Regions from separate parts of the Homo sapiens genome. Here all the other regions are linked to region 3. Evidence: promoter capture Hi-C in 16 types of primary human blood cells and fetal thymus (Javierre and others, 2016). All regions are on one chromosome and are shown on one strand. The core of a region is centred on a gene start or on the middle of the fragment in contact, and the rest is flanking DNA. Distances in the headings are between cores, read along the strand shown.

Region 1 (2,700 bases), core at 85-2,584, 160 kb before region 3:
AAAGCCTTGTGCCGAAATCAATAACCCCATGAAGGCCCAGCCTGGGCTCCTTTCAGATATGGGCCAGGTCAGCTAACTCTGGGACAAATAAAACCTTCTGGGTGCAGGGCCGGGGCGGGGAAGGGCAGAGTGCCCCAATTTCAGGAACGCACGCCAGTAAATTGGGACCCCACTTCCCCCACCCAGGGACAACCTCTGGTAACAGCCTTGGGTACCCTCTTCCTGATGGGCAGACTGTGTTACCACAGGTGGCAAGAACTCTTATAAAGATATCATTCTGTGTGTGTGTGTGTGTGTGTGTGTGTGCTTGTGTCTTGCCACGTTATCTTCACCTCCAATTTCTTCAAGCAAGGAGCCTAGCCTGGCTTCTTCAGGCACCCTTGCCTCAGGGATGATTTGGAGAACAAGCAATAGTGCCACTTTCCTTCTTATCACTGGAAAAGCACATTGAAGCAATGCAATGAGTGCTGGGGTGGGCAAGGCAGGAACCCTGGGCAGGGAGAAGCAACAAGGAGGAGGGGGCTTGCACTTTGGTGGGTCTCAGGTATGTGTGCAGGGCTCCCGCCACTTTCTTTTTTAGCAAAACTGAACTTTAATGACACGTTCCTTTAAACACATCCATTTGGTGCTGAAAATGGAAAGATGACTGGTATGGAGCAGAAGATTTACCTTATTGCAATTGTGTGTCACCTAACGATACAGTGTAAAATCACTAACATCGATTTCCACATCCCTTTGCCCCAACAATCTTCTGCTTCATACTCATAATGCTCGGTTTCATCTCATTATTGAGTTTACGATCTGAATATACACATGTGATGTGCCAAAGGATGGTCAATCCATGAAATGGAAAAAAGCACATTACAATCCAAGAGGCATCCGAGCTCTGTAGATAACTTTAAATTGTAGATAACATGGAAGGGAGAAAGACATCTGAGGAGAGAAAAAGCTTCAATTTCAGAAACCTAGCAGCTTTCCCCATAGTGATCCTAAGATTGCTAGTGGAAAGTTTTGGTACTGGCACTGATGTTGACTCAAACCTGCTGCCAGTAAGATTCCTTGGCATAATTCTGCATCTTGTTGCTCCTTGCGGATTCTTCATCATTTTCAGTACCTGGGAAGTTATTTTTGCAATGGGATATGGACACCCATACCTGTATACAGTCTGATCTCCATCTTATGAGCAAGACAAATCTTTAACTCCAAATCTCAGGCCCCCTCAGAGTTCTCTTTTGGGGAGAAACAGCAAGTCCCATTTCTGCTGCCTTTTTCGTTGGATCTTTTCTAAGTCCTGCTGTTGAAATAGCTCTTCTAGTACAGGGAAACTGTAGTTAGTTAGTAGTAGGGCTGATGGTCAAGTTACTGAAGCCCTTAACTGGCATTCCTGAGGAGGAAGGATGAGAGGGTGGTTTCCTCACTCTAAGGTTCAAAGAACAATTCATAAAATGATGATATTCAAAATTAAATATCAATTGATTCTGATAATATAAATGCTGAGTAAGGATTCAAAGTAACAATGTTTCATCTAATGGCCTCTTTTGTTGGATTTTATCTTCACTGTCCTGCTCTGGGGACAGACTTTCTGTTGGAGGGTCAAGTTACTGAGGCCCTCTCTCAGCATTTCTGAGGAGGATGAATGAGGAGGTGTGGTGTTTTCCTGAGAGTTTTCTTTTGAGGGTATCTGGGAATATTCAGGAGCCAAGATTGGGTTAAGCTTCCGTGGTGAATCAGTGGAGATCCAGTCACAGCCTGAGACTCCTTTTGGACCTTTAGATGTGAACAGGAAGGTTGATATGGTTTGGCTTTGTGTCCCCACCCAAATGTCATGTTGAATTGTAATTCCTGATATTGTAGGAGGGACCTGGTGGGAAGTGATTGGAATATGGGCGCAGATTTCTCCCTTGCTGTTCTCGAGATAGTGAGTTCTCATGATATCTGGTTGTTTGAAAGTGTGTGGCACTGGGCCAGGCGTGGTGGCTCATGCCTATAATCCCAGCACTTTGGGAGGCCGAGGCAGGCAGATCACATGAGGTCAGGGGTTTGAAACCAGCCTGGCCAACATGGCAAAACCCCGTCTCTACTAAAAATACAAAATTAGCCGGGCATGGTGGCGCACACCACCATAATCCCAGCTACTTGGGAGGCTGAGGCAGGAGAATCGCTTGAACCCGGGAGGCGGAGGTTGCAGTGAGCCGAGATCGGGGGCCATTGCACTCCAGCCTGAGCAGCAAGAGCGAGACTCCATCTCAAAAAAAAGAAAGAAAGAAAGAAAGAAAGAAAGTGTGTAGCATTTCCCCCTTTGCTCTCTCTCTCCTACTCCACCATCATAAGACGTGCTTGCTTCCCCTTCACCTTCCACCGTGATTGTAAGTTTTCTGAGGCCTCCCAGCCATGCTTCCTGTACAGCCTGTGGAATACTGTGAGTCAATTAAACCTCTTTTATTCATAAATTACCCAGTCTCAGGTAGTTCTTTATAGCAATGTGAGAACAGACTCATACAAAGGTGATGCTTGAGGCTCTCAAATTGGTACAGGTTGGCCTGGAAAGAATTCCAGCCTAGTTTGGGGAGTGGAAACCAGACTTCCAACACATGGTAAGTCCTGCATGCTTTTTAACAGCTGCATAATACTCCACTGAATGGCATTAACCAGTCCCTGTTTTGGACATGGGAATTTTCTAATTTTTGGCTAGGTCAAACG
Region 2 (2,700 bases), core at 55-2,554, 230 kb before region 3:
CAGCCAGAGGACGGCAACTCACCTGGGACAGTCTCACGGACTAACCACTAGACTGAGAGATGAGGCTACCAATCTCTAACCACAGAAACATAATCATGTTTTTAATAAATAAATGTCAGCAGTAGAAATCTTTCCAGTTTATTCTGTCTTTTTTTGTTTTTGAGATAGGGTCTTGCTCTATTGCCCAAGCTGGAGTTCAGTGGCACAATCATGGCTCACTGCAGCCTCAACCTCTCAGGCTCAAGCAATCCTCCCACCTCAGCCTCCTGAGTAGCTGGGACTATGGGTATGCGCCACTGCACCCAGCTCGTTTTTTAATTTTTAGTAAAGATGAAGTTTTGCTGTGTTGCCCAGGCTGGTCTCCAATTCCTGGCCTCAAGTGATCCTCCTACTTTGGCCTCTCAAAGTGCTGGGATTACAGGTGTGAGCCACCGCACCAAACCTTTTTCTTTTTAATAGTCTAGAATAGAGTTTGGCTAGGTTCATTTCAAACACTGAAGTGATATAAAACAGGTGGCCGAAAGAATAGTACATCTTTGGTAGAATAAACATAAGGAGAAGCTAAATCAGAATAATTAATTATAATAGAAATATGCCTCTCATCTTTCAGGGATGTCCTTGAATGTGTTAATGACTCGTAATGATTTTGAAATCCCTTTCTCTTCAAGTTCTAAATAAAAAATACTTAATAAAGCTACTTTATGCTAGTTCCATTAGTTACCACCTGGGTTAAGGTTCAGGCGCTGATACCTACCACCAAAACTTCATATATGAAGACGATCAAAAGTAAAATATCTTCTTTGCTCTTATCCAGAAATTGGGATGAACACATCCCACTGGTCTCCATTTCAAGACTAGAATGTGTGCAAGTTTGTGGACTCAGAAGAGAATTTCTCATGGTGTATGGCTAATTCCCAAAGGTACCTCGCTTAGGCCCGCCATCTAATTAGCACGAGGTTTTAGCCATTTAAGCTAAACAACCCAGATCTGAATTAATCAAAAGGTTCCCTGGAACAATGGTCATCACATCTGCTTCAAATACATTGAAGTCTGAAAGGAGGGTGTTAATCCACATATAAAATTTGCCCAGAACATTAGCACTTGGCTTAGAAGCTGTCAGATGCTTCTATATTCTTAAGCCGTAGTGATCTAGCCCTTCCAAAGTTGATCCCTTCCTTTTAGTATACGTTTATCATGAAAAATAACATCAAAATATTACCTAAATACTAACTTCCATTTTCTGACGAATGAAAGATATTTTAAAGCAATATGTTCTCCTATATTTCAAAGAGGAGAATGATTAAGCCTTCAAGCCTTTAAGTTTATCATTTTAAAGCATGCATCATTGACTGGAAATCATTTTGCTCTTAAAACCTTAAACCATGAGAGCTTATGGCTCCAATGAGAGACTTTCAAGAGATAATCCACATTTTTTTCCCCTAAATCATTCTCAGTCTTTGGTACAGACACAAGAATATCACTACCCTTGTGAGCATGAAGCTCTCAAAAGAACTCTTTAATCAAGAAAGGGATGCAGAGAGTTCTGTGTTAACGCTTCTAAACAAAGGTAGCCTATTTGTCTAAGCCTGACTGCTAAAGAGTAAGCGGGACTGAAGCCACCTGATCCTGCCAGACTTCTCCTCAAGTTATGCAAATCTTATGTCAGCAGGTCCTTACCAGTGATTAGTGTTTCTCCTGGAAGTCGAGGAACAGCCTCAGTGAGATCTCGATTGACTCCATCTCGAGACGTCTAGAAACAAAACAGATGCATCAGAAGTAATGACGTTACATTTACACACTGTTTTTAAGCAACTAGGAATACAAGCCACTAGAAATATGTTTTTTAAAGAAAAAGCATTAGAGATTTAGCATTTGGGAAAACTGGCACAAAAATTCAAACAAAAAAGTTACAATCTGGCACCAACATTAATTAGATGTGTCAACTTCTAGTATTAAATAATGCTAGCATGCTTTTCAATAATATTAATTTTTAAACTACATTTCCAAGCACTTTAAAGTTAACAGCTTTCGGGAAAGTGATAAAAAGTAAACATTAAGTGTGTTCTATAGATACACATACACTGTAGCAGCTTTCTTTTTTTCATATTCAGCCATCTTTTGGGAAGAGTAGGAAGGAAAACTTCAATTCCACAGAGGCTTAACTGAATAACAGCACAGCCATTAGCCAGAATCCTATTACAATGCCCGAAAATCATTGATTACCTATTGCGTTTCCTATTTCACTAAGACCCTTCCTCTCTTTTTACTTCCTCACATTTACTAAGATCCCTGTCCTAATAAGAGGTAAGAGTGGTCTGTCAGAGAACTTTTGAGCTGGCAAAAGTCTTAGGAGCCATTTGTACAAATTCTTCACATCACTTTACTATTTCTCTAGGCTTCCTGGCTTTAGAGGTATTCCCAAGCATGTGCCTCATTCAATCACTTCCACAGCTCTGCTAGGTGGGCACAGTAATATTAACCACTACAACCTGCAGGCGAGTTCGCAGAGCCTAATTTGCCATAGCTACCCATTGTCTTTCAGGTTATTCAGCTGCCCTAGTGGATTAATACGAAGATGTGTTGCAGGTGCTAGTCTGATGACATTTGAGGCACATCACTAACATCTGTTTGGGCAAAAAGTTTTTTTCAGCAGTATTTCATTTTTTTCTATTTGTTGTCCAAAATCACACTGCAATCATT
Region 3 (2,700 bases), core at 76-2,575:
GCCCCCGGGGGGCACCGTGGTGCCAAACAACAACGACAAGCCACCCCAGCAAAAGCAGCCCCTTCTCCCCACGTCCCCCAGCCACGCTGTGCTCCCGCCCGCTCACACACACCCACACTCCGGGTGCCCAGGTCAGCCGCACCCAGCTGCAGAAGCGCGGCGGGGCGGGAGTGAATGCTCCAGCCCGAGGCGCGTGTTTGCACAGGTTCCGATGGCTTCAGGGCCGAGCTTTCTGGCAGGCTAATCCTATTAGTGTCTGCTCAGTCCGAATTTAATCACGGATCAGAATCAGACGACATCTCCAGCTTTCCAGGAGGCTTCGGACACACTGCATTGGGACGGAGCCTGGCCAAGCCAACTGGCCGAGAAAAGTATTTGGCGGCGCTCCGGGGGGCTTCCCGCCCGCGCTAGCCGGCGCCGGGCGCCCAGCTCTGTCGTCGCGCGGATGCTGGGGAACCTGAAGCGCGGACTCTGACGCAGGGGCGCCGGGGCTGCTCCGCAGGAACCCAGTCCGGGCTGCCCTGAACACCAGCTCAGCTCCGGGCTGCGCTTCCCAGGAGTTGGCAGGGGAGGGAGTGCAGGGCAGCGGATTCGGCGCGCACACTCCACACTCTCGCTCAGAGGCGGCAAACAGCGTTGGGGTGGGGAAATCCTTCATCCAGCGCCCACTGCCTACTGGCCTGGGCTCAGGCAGCTGGCATGTGAAGGCACCGTCGCCGGTGACACCCAGGCTGCAAGCGACCCGGGGGTGCTGGGACAGAGTGGGAGCCTCCCAGTAGCCCAGCGTAGCCCGAGGAGCTTGCGCCCTTCTACCTTTCCTCCCCGGTACGTGGCTGTCCCCGCCGGATTTCAGACGCCCGACGGGCGCCGAGCCAAAGGCCGTGGTCTCCGGCGTTTCGAGCTGCGCCCAGCCCAGCCGGGCTGGTTCGAGAAGGGGGTGGCCGCCCGCAGCGCCAGGTGGGCCGTGTGCTCAGAGCAAACTTTAGGGTCTACCGACTCGAAGCACCCCTGGGACCCCGATCCTCAGCGATGGGGACCATAACTGGGGGCTACAAGTGTACCCCGGAACCCCCAGAACAGTCAGACTTCCTGCACCCGCCCTCAGCCTTACCGTGCTGCAGAGCTCCGGCGGCGGCGGGGGCAGTGTCCGAGGGGCGGGCGGCCGCCGGCGCGGGCAGCCTGGACTCAGGCGGCCGCCAAGGAACCCAGCCCTGTTGCAGATCACCCCCTGGCTAGCGGCCGGTGCCCCCGCGCCCGCCCGCCGCCGGCCGCTTCAGCTCGCGGCCAAGTTCATGCTGGCGGCGCTGCAGTGGCGGCCTCAATCTGCTCGCTCCATTCCCACCGCCCGGCTCCGCGCCGCGCGCCCGGAAGGTGGAGTTTCGGGGGTTTAAGTTACTGATAGGCATTTCTCACTGCTGTGTCACTCGGGGAGGAGGAGACACGCACGCCGCACACTCACACACCCTCACACTCACGGCGACGAGCGGCTCCGGCCTTAAAGGGGAAGCCGCGCTGCCCTGCCCGCGACCCCGCCAGCCCGAAGCCTGGAAACTCAGGGTTTCCACTCCGGGATGGGGCAGCGGGCAGCCAAAGAGCTGCGGCCGCCCGAGGGGCCTCCCGGGCCCTCCCACCAGTCTTTAGAGGAGAAAGCGGCCGCAGGCTGGCTTCGCTGTTGCAGCCTCATTTCTCCAGTCGGCTCGAACCAGGGCAGCTGGGGAGGGATCGGAGGGGCGGAAGGGGCATCGGTGCACTCACCTTGGCTGCTCCGCACTCAGTGGAGGGTGGTCTGTGCCCCCGGCGTCAGCTGGCTTGCCTAGGCGGTGCGCTGGTGGAAAGAGGCGACAGCAGGGTTAGCGGAGCGCCTCCAGCAGACAGAGCCCGCCGGAGGGCCGCAGGCGGGGCCCGGCGCGCTTGGGAAACCCGCACGCCGAAGGTAGACTTTCCGCGTCTGGGGAAAACGAGCTGGTGAGCCGTGCGTGGCCGGGACACACGAAGAGCGAGCACGGAGAGCCAAAAGCCAGCGGTCATCAGTGACAGGGCGAGAGAGCGCTCAGGACCGAGAGACCAAGAAAGACAGGAGACCGTACGAGACACAGAGAAGGCAGAGACTGAGAGACAGATACCGAGAGAGGCACCGGCGGAGATAGAGGTAGAGACACGATGAAGGGAGAGGAGAGGAGAGGAGATGAGAGGAGAGGAGAGGAGAGGAGGAAATAAGGAGAGGAGGAGAGGGACCAGAGAACAAGAGAGCTTGCAAGAGGAATGACAGATCCCCAGAGGACCCTGAAGTGTCACAGGGACGGGAGTCTCATCACAAAGTAGCCTATTCAGCCCCCATCCCCCTTCCCATTTTCACCAGAGCCTGACCCTAGGGCTAGCGGCCAGGCCCTTCTCCTCCCCTCGCCCTGGGAGGGGCACTCACCTGCAGTGGGTGGCTGCTGGGTGGGTAGCGCCAGTCCCTCCGCCCACGCATCCGCTCACCAGCTCGCGCCCTGACTGCCAAACAGACCCGCTGTGGCGGCAGCGGGGACCAGGGCTCTCAGGTGGCAGTTAGTGAACTGCATTCTCTCCATCCCGGCCGAGTGCCCCACTCCCCACTTCCCAGTCCCCCACCCTTAGCGCGGACGCTGTCGGCGTCGCCCGCCAGTACGCTTAGCTCAGAGTCCAGGCTCGCTGGCCAGTCTCCCGTTCCACTGGACC
Region 4 (2,700 bases), core at 2-2,501, 250 kb before region 3:
TTTTAACACTTCAAAAGGGTTGAAAAAACAACACACAGAGAAGAATACACAACAGAAATCTGATGTGGCCCACAAAGCCTAAAATATTTGCTACTGAGCCCTTCACAGAAAAAGTCTGCAAAGCCCTGCACTGGACTGGTGGTTCATAGTCACACGAGACGCTTGAACACATCCCCACCTTTTGGGTCCCAGCCTTCAGAAATTATCTTAGCAAAGTTACCCAACTCTTTGGAGCCTCGGGCTCCCATCACGCCATCTCAGAGGGTTGCACTTGAGGATCAAATGCAAAGCACCTAGCATGTGTTTGGATGGACACAAATGTTCAATACATGGTTACTATCACAGCAAAGTGTACCTCTGAAAATGACCTAAGCAAAAGTTACGAAGGTTATTAGAGGTAAGGACACATCCCGTTAACAGAGGGCAAAATCTCTTCTATTCCTCCTTCCTTCATGTTAACATATGACATGAAGGGGCGCCAGGAGCAAGCTGGAGCAAAAACTAAAGTGGTTTAAGAAATTTTATCTATAAAGTTCTCTTCCCACTCAGTCAAGCTAACAAACTGACCAGTTCCTCGAGTCCTTGTATTTGGTGATTGCAGTGGGTCCCTCACGTGGGCACTATTTCCCAGGCACTTTTGAAAAGCTTGTTCTTAAGGGAAGAACCATTTCCAGGGCCTTAGATGAACATGAGATTTTGATTTTTTTTTTTCAAATCCACATTAATTGTCTACTATCATTCAACACTAACGTGCCTTGTTCTTTGCATAAGAAAGTATCGAATCTCTTACTTTACAAGTAATATCTAGACCATAGGAATTTTCTCCTCTACTTGTCGCGCCTCCCATTTTTTCAATTCTCGAGATCACACCCAGAGGAACATCAAGTATTAGAGAAGAATCCTGTAATGGACAAAAATACAGTAGTCAGTATTTCTGTCAGTATAATTAAAACATCAAAAAACATATAAAAACAACCATATGCTTTCAGAGTGATTTTACCTTGGCCCTTTTAGCACTTTATGAACAAAAATATGATACAGATCACACATGACAGAGCAAGCATTAAAACAGTCAATTATGCAATCAAAATGCATCCCCAAACATTTGCCATTGTGCACTGCCTCTGGAGTAAAGACTAAACTCCTAGGTACACATTTCCAGGACGTCCGTGATATCACTTCCAGCCTGTTTCTGTGGGATTCTCTCCCACGATATTCTGCACTCCAACTAAGTAAACTTCTTCATTCTTCAGATGCTTCATCTACGATCAAGCCACCTGCTTTGCTCAGGGTGTTCCCTTTGCCTAGAATGATCTGTCTTTCCCAGCTACCAAAATTGTCCCCATGACTTTCGCCTTGGCTCAGCAAGCATCACCTCTAATGAGGCCTTGCTTCCCAATTAGATCAGGCAGAATTCATCACTTTTTCCTCAGAAGTTCCATAGCACTTGATTCCGACTGCTGTTAACCACTTGCTTCACTCTGCCTTGTTACCACGAATTTACACATATGTATTCCCCCACTAGAGACCAAGCATCTGGAAATGGTGCTTGTCTCTGGCATGCGTGCATTTCCCAAAGCAGAAGGGCCTTAATGCACAGCAAGGCTTCTCCATCATTTGCTATCCAACGCTGGGTGCAAGTGGTCTAGAAGACTGCTGGCATGATGGAATCATGTTAGTCAAGTAATAGCACAATCATCACCAGGAGATCATCACAGCAGCTGCCATGTAGGAAATACCTCTCTTCTGTGCCAGGTACTACATTAGGGGCTTTGCACGCATCATCTCATTTTATCCTCACAACCGTTCCAGGATATAGGTGAAGTATCCCCATTTCCTAAGTTTTTCAAAGCTTCAATAACTTGTTTAGTAAGTATAGGGCAGGGTTGAGACTCGAGGCAATGCCTGAAAACACACATTAAAAGTGCCATAAAAATTGTCCTACTCTTTGATCCAATAATTTCGCTACTAAGAACTTATGGCTATCACTTAACAGAAGGAAGATGTTCAATGGAGCTAGAGGTAGATAACAGGGTAGAAAAAATTATACTCAACTCGCTGGAACAAGTATACAGTTTTTAAAATAATTATGGTACATGGAAAAGTAAGTTTAAGTGGGAAACAGCAGCATACAACACACACGGTGACTACAATAACATGAAATATCTATTTACAGGGACAAAGACATGAAGGGCTACACCATTTTTAATCCAAACTTTTCTTTCATATTGTGATAGATAAGTTTGAAAAATAAAGAAAAAAAATTTTTAAGGGTTATTTGGTTTTTTGTTCTTTAAAAACCTTTTGGGGCTACAAAGTTTTTCTTTTCTTTCCCCCCTTTTTTTTTTTTTTTAAGAGATAAGTTCTTGCTCTGTTGCTCAGGCTGGAGTACAGTGGCTCACTGCAGCCTTGACGTCCCAGGCTCAAGGGATCCTCCCACCTCAGCCTTCCAAGTAGCTGAGACCACAGGCACACACCACCAGCCACACTTAATTTTTTTTTTTTTTTAGATGAGTCTCACTCTGTCACCCAGGCTGGAGTGCAGTGGCACGATCTCAGCTCACTGCAACCTCCACCTCCTGGGTTCAAGCAATTCTCCTGCCTCAGCCTCCCAAGTAGCTGGGATTACAGGCATGTGCCACCATGCCTGGCTAATTTTTGTATTTTTAGTAGAGACGGGGTTTTGCCATGTTGGCCAGG
Region 5 (2,700 bases), core at 199-2,698, 170 kb after region 3:
CTAAAGGACTTTGGTGGCCCAAGGGTGCCACTTCCCTGTCAGGAGGTTAGCAGCAGTGGGGAGAAATAGAGCAAGCATGAAGGGAATCCATGATGTGCACAGAGGGGGCACTTATGGAGACAGTGGCCAAAAAAAAGATTGGCATATCTGTTGATGGGGGATGGCAGTAGGTGAGCACAGGGTGGGCAAATAGGAATACACCTCAGTCAGGGCTGGGGAAGTTTATTGGGTGGGTTTAGGAATCTCTGGATTTCTGTGTTCCAGACTTCGCCTGGGGATAATATAGACTGGGTCCCTGACATACCATGTGCTCCAAGTGGAATGGGTTCTGAATGACTGAAATGTTTACCCCCCTGGCACTCTATCTGACGATCTGCACTGATGTACTCTGAGGATGCTGAGTCCATGTGCTATCAAAGGCATGGAAGTGGCTGGGAGGGACGAAGGATGAAAACAGGAGCCAGTGTAAAGTGGGAGAGGTTAGGGCTGCTGGGCTTGGGCTGGAGAAGCAGCCCCTTTATATAGTCATTGGAGCCTCGGGGCATGACGCTAGAGAAAGACAGCATGGAGGGCCCACTTGGCCTGTCCAGATGAGGATAGACTTTTACATCCACTTTAGATTGAGTGGAGGAGAGGTCCACAGGGGTGCCTTAGAGTAGAGGTCAACAGACAAGAATCCTCCGTGCTCAAAGTCTGCCTTTATCTTCTCAAGGATGCAAGATAGTGCTGAATATGCCACTCCTCTTTCCCCTGATACCATGTTGACAAAATGTTCATTCAATTCTTTCAAAAAAATCCAAACACAGTAATCTTCCTGAGGAATTCAGAATTTTCTTAATTTCTGTCTGACATCCCTGCCTCTCTGGGGAGGTAGAGGTAGGAAAGAATATAGAAATTGTCCAAGTCTGAAAGTTGGCTCTAAGGAAACTTTATGCTGCAAAGCAGACATGCAAAATCTCTCTTGTAGTTGTCACAATGATATTAAATTACCTACTTTATTCATTTATGAGGCTCAATGCGAGCAGCAAATCTTAGCTGGCAGGCCCCAGGCCTGGGCTGTTGAGGGAAACAGGTGGTATGTGAGCACACACACCTTGTCAAGGCCTTTCTTGATGTCTCCCAGTGGCCTGAGTCCTCCTATAGGGCCTGCCCAGGCTTCAGGCCTCACTACCACTTGCTGCCTGGGAGTACATGACTACATGGCCCTCACTGTTCACCCAGCTTGAGCCATGCTCTTGCAGATGGAAAAAGAGCATACATGCATACTTGACCTCTGCCCTGTGAGGTAAGCAACACAGATATCAATAGTCCTGTTTCACAGACAAAGAAATTGAGGCCCAGAAAGGTTAAGTGATTGGTCATACTCAGCTGGCAGTAATAGAGCTGTGTCAAAACTCAGCTTCTCTGACTCCAAGCTCAGTTACCTTGCCATTCTGCATGCTGCCTCCTGAACTGGCCATGAACACTCTTTGAAGAGGTCATCTCAGAGTGAGGACACAAGTTGGGGTATCTGTCTCCACAGTTCTTCCCCATTCACTCTGTGAATGCAAACATGAATTTACGTTTGGCAAATATCAGTTAATATATCACTTCCATAGATAATTGAAAATTGGCTCTTGCCTGGGTGCAGTGGCTCATGCCTATAATCTCAGCACTTTGGGAAGCCAATGGGGGAGGATCACTTGAAGCCGGGAGTTTGAGATCAGCCTGGGCAACATGTTGAAATCACATCTCTTCAAAAAATAAAAAAAAAAATAGTGGGGTGCAGTGGCACGTGCCTGTAGTCCTAGCCACTTGGGAGGCTGAGGTGGAAGGACTGCCTGAGCCCAGGAGTTTGAGGCTGCAATGAGCCATGATCATGCCACTGCACCACAGCCCTCCAACCTGGGTGACAGAGTGAGACCTTGTCTAAAAAAAAAAATAAATAAAACCGAAAATTATCTCTCAAAATTACGGCAAAAAGATGAGACCTCTGGGTTAGTGAATTCAGGAGTCAAGGGGTAAGATTTTTAAGATGAATCCAGATATGGCATTAACTTTAGTAGGTGTTTAAAGAAGAGTTACAGCCATGTGAATACCCTGCTGTAAGACCTAGGTGATGATGAAAACTATTGTAGGCTGGATAATGGCCCCAAATCTGGAACTTCTAAATGTTACCTTATATGGAAATAGCATCTCTGCAGATGTGAATAAATTAATAATTTTGAGATGAGGATGTTATCCTCACATCTTCATCCATTTGGGTAGGCTCTAAATGCAACATCATGTGTCTTTATAAGGGGGAGGCAGAAGGAGATTTGACACAAATGCACAGCCCTGGGAATAGGAGTGCTACCTAGCCCTGCCACTTCCTAGCTGGGTTGTTTTTGGCAACTTGAAGGATAGGAATGGAACATACCCTCTTAGAGTCCACAAAAGTTAAATGAGAAAATATATGATGGATGGTAAGCACTCAAAAGAAGATGGCCATTATCATCTTTCTTTATTCGTGAAAACATAAGAACTCTTTTCATATGTAGTAGGGCTGAATAATTGGCCCCCATGATGCTCACATCATAATCCCCAGAAGCTGTGAATATGTTACCTGACATGACAAAAAGGACTTTGCAAATGTGATTGACTTAAGGATCTTGGGATGGGGAGGTCATTTTGGATTTTCAGGATTTGCCCTAAACGTAATCAACAATGATTCTTCTAAGT

What was found. The method cuts DNA at HindIII sites, captures the fragments that hold promoters and counts their contacts. A CHiCAGO score of 5 or more calls a contact.
Region 1: a contact is called between a fragment that was not itself captured here and the fragment with the promoter of MAMLD1 in region 3, in 1 of 17 cell types (activated CD4 T cells). The highest score is 5.2, in activated CD4 T cells.
Region 2: a fragment that was not itself captured here is called in contact with the fragment with the promoter of MAMLD1 in region 3 in 1 of 17 cell types (non-activated CD4 T cells); the score reaches 6.4 in non-activated CD4 T cells.
Region 4: a contact is called between a fragment that was not itself captured here and the fragment with the promoter of MAMLD1 in region 3, in 1 of 17 cell types (activated CD4 T cells). The highest score is 5.5, in activated CD4 T cells.
Region 5: a fragment that was not itself captured here is called in contact with the fragment with the promoter of MAMLD1 in region 3 in 1 of 17 cell types (M1 macrophages); the score reaches 5.6 in M1 macrophages.

The regions. Positions count from the first base shown.
Region 1 is chrX:150,522,579-150,525,278 of GRCh38, reverse strand. No RefSeq gene overlaps it. Among named protein-coding and RNA genes, the nearest start is that of MTM1, 45 kb to the left of the region's middle. The HindIII fragment of the contact is 765 bases long and covers 952-1,716 here.
Region 2 is chrX:150,595,548-150,598,247 of GRCh38, reverse strand. It overlaps MTM1 (myotubularin 1), which reads right to left. Exons shown (of 15, transcript NM_000252.3): 3 at 1,678-1,750. Among named protein-coding and RNA genes, the nearest start is that of MTM1, 28 kb to the right of the region's middle. The HindIII fragment of the contact is 6,867 bases long and covers 1-2,700 here.
Region 3 is chrX:150,361,942-150,364,641 of GRCh38, reverse strand. It overlaps MAMLD1 (mastermind like domain containing 1), which reads right to left and starts at 1,325. Exons shown (of 8, transcript NM_005491.5): 1 at 1,112-1,325. The HindIII fragment of the contact is 7,703 bases long and covers 1-2,700 here.
Region 4 is chrX:150,612,790-150,615,489 of GRCh38, reverse strand. MTM1 (myotubularin 1) reads right to left here. Exons shown (of 15, transcript NM_000252.3): 5 at 791-901. Among named protein-coding and RNA genes, the nearest start is that of MTM1, 46 kb to the right of the region's middle. The HindIII fragment of the contact is 1,207 bases long and covers 648-1,854 here.
Region 5 is chrX:150,187,396-150,190,095 of GRCh38, reverse strand. No RefSeq gene overlaps it. Among named protein-coding and RNA genes, the nearest start is that of MIR2114, 39 kb to the left of the region's middle. The HindIII fragment of the contact is 3,210 bases long and covers 1-2,700 here.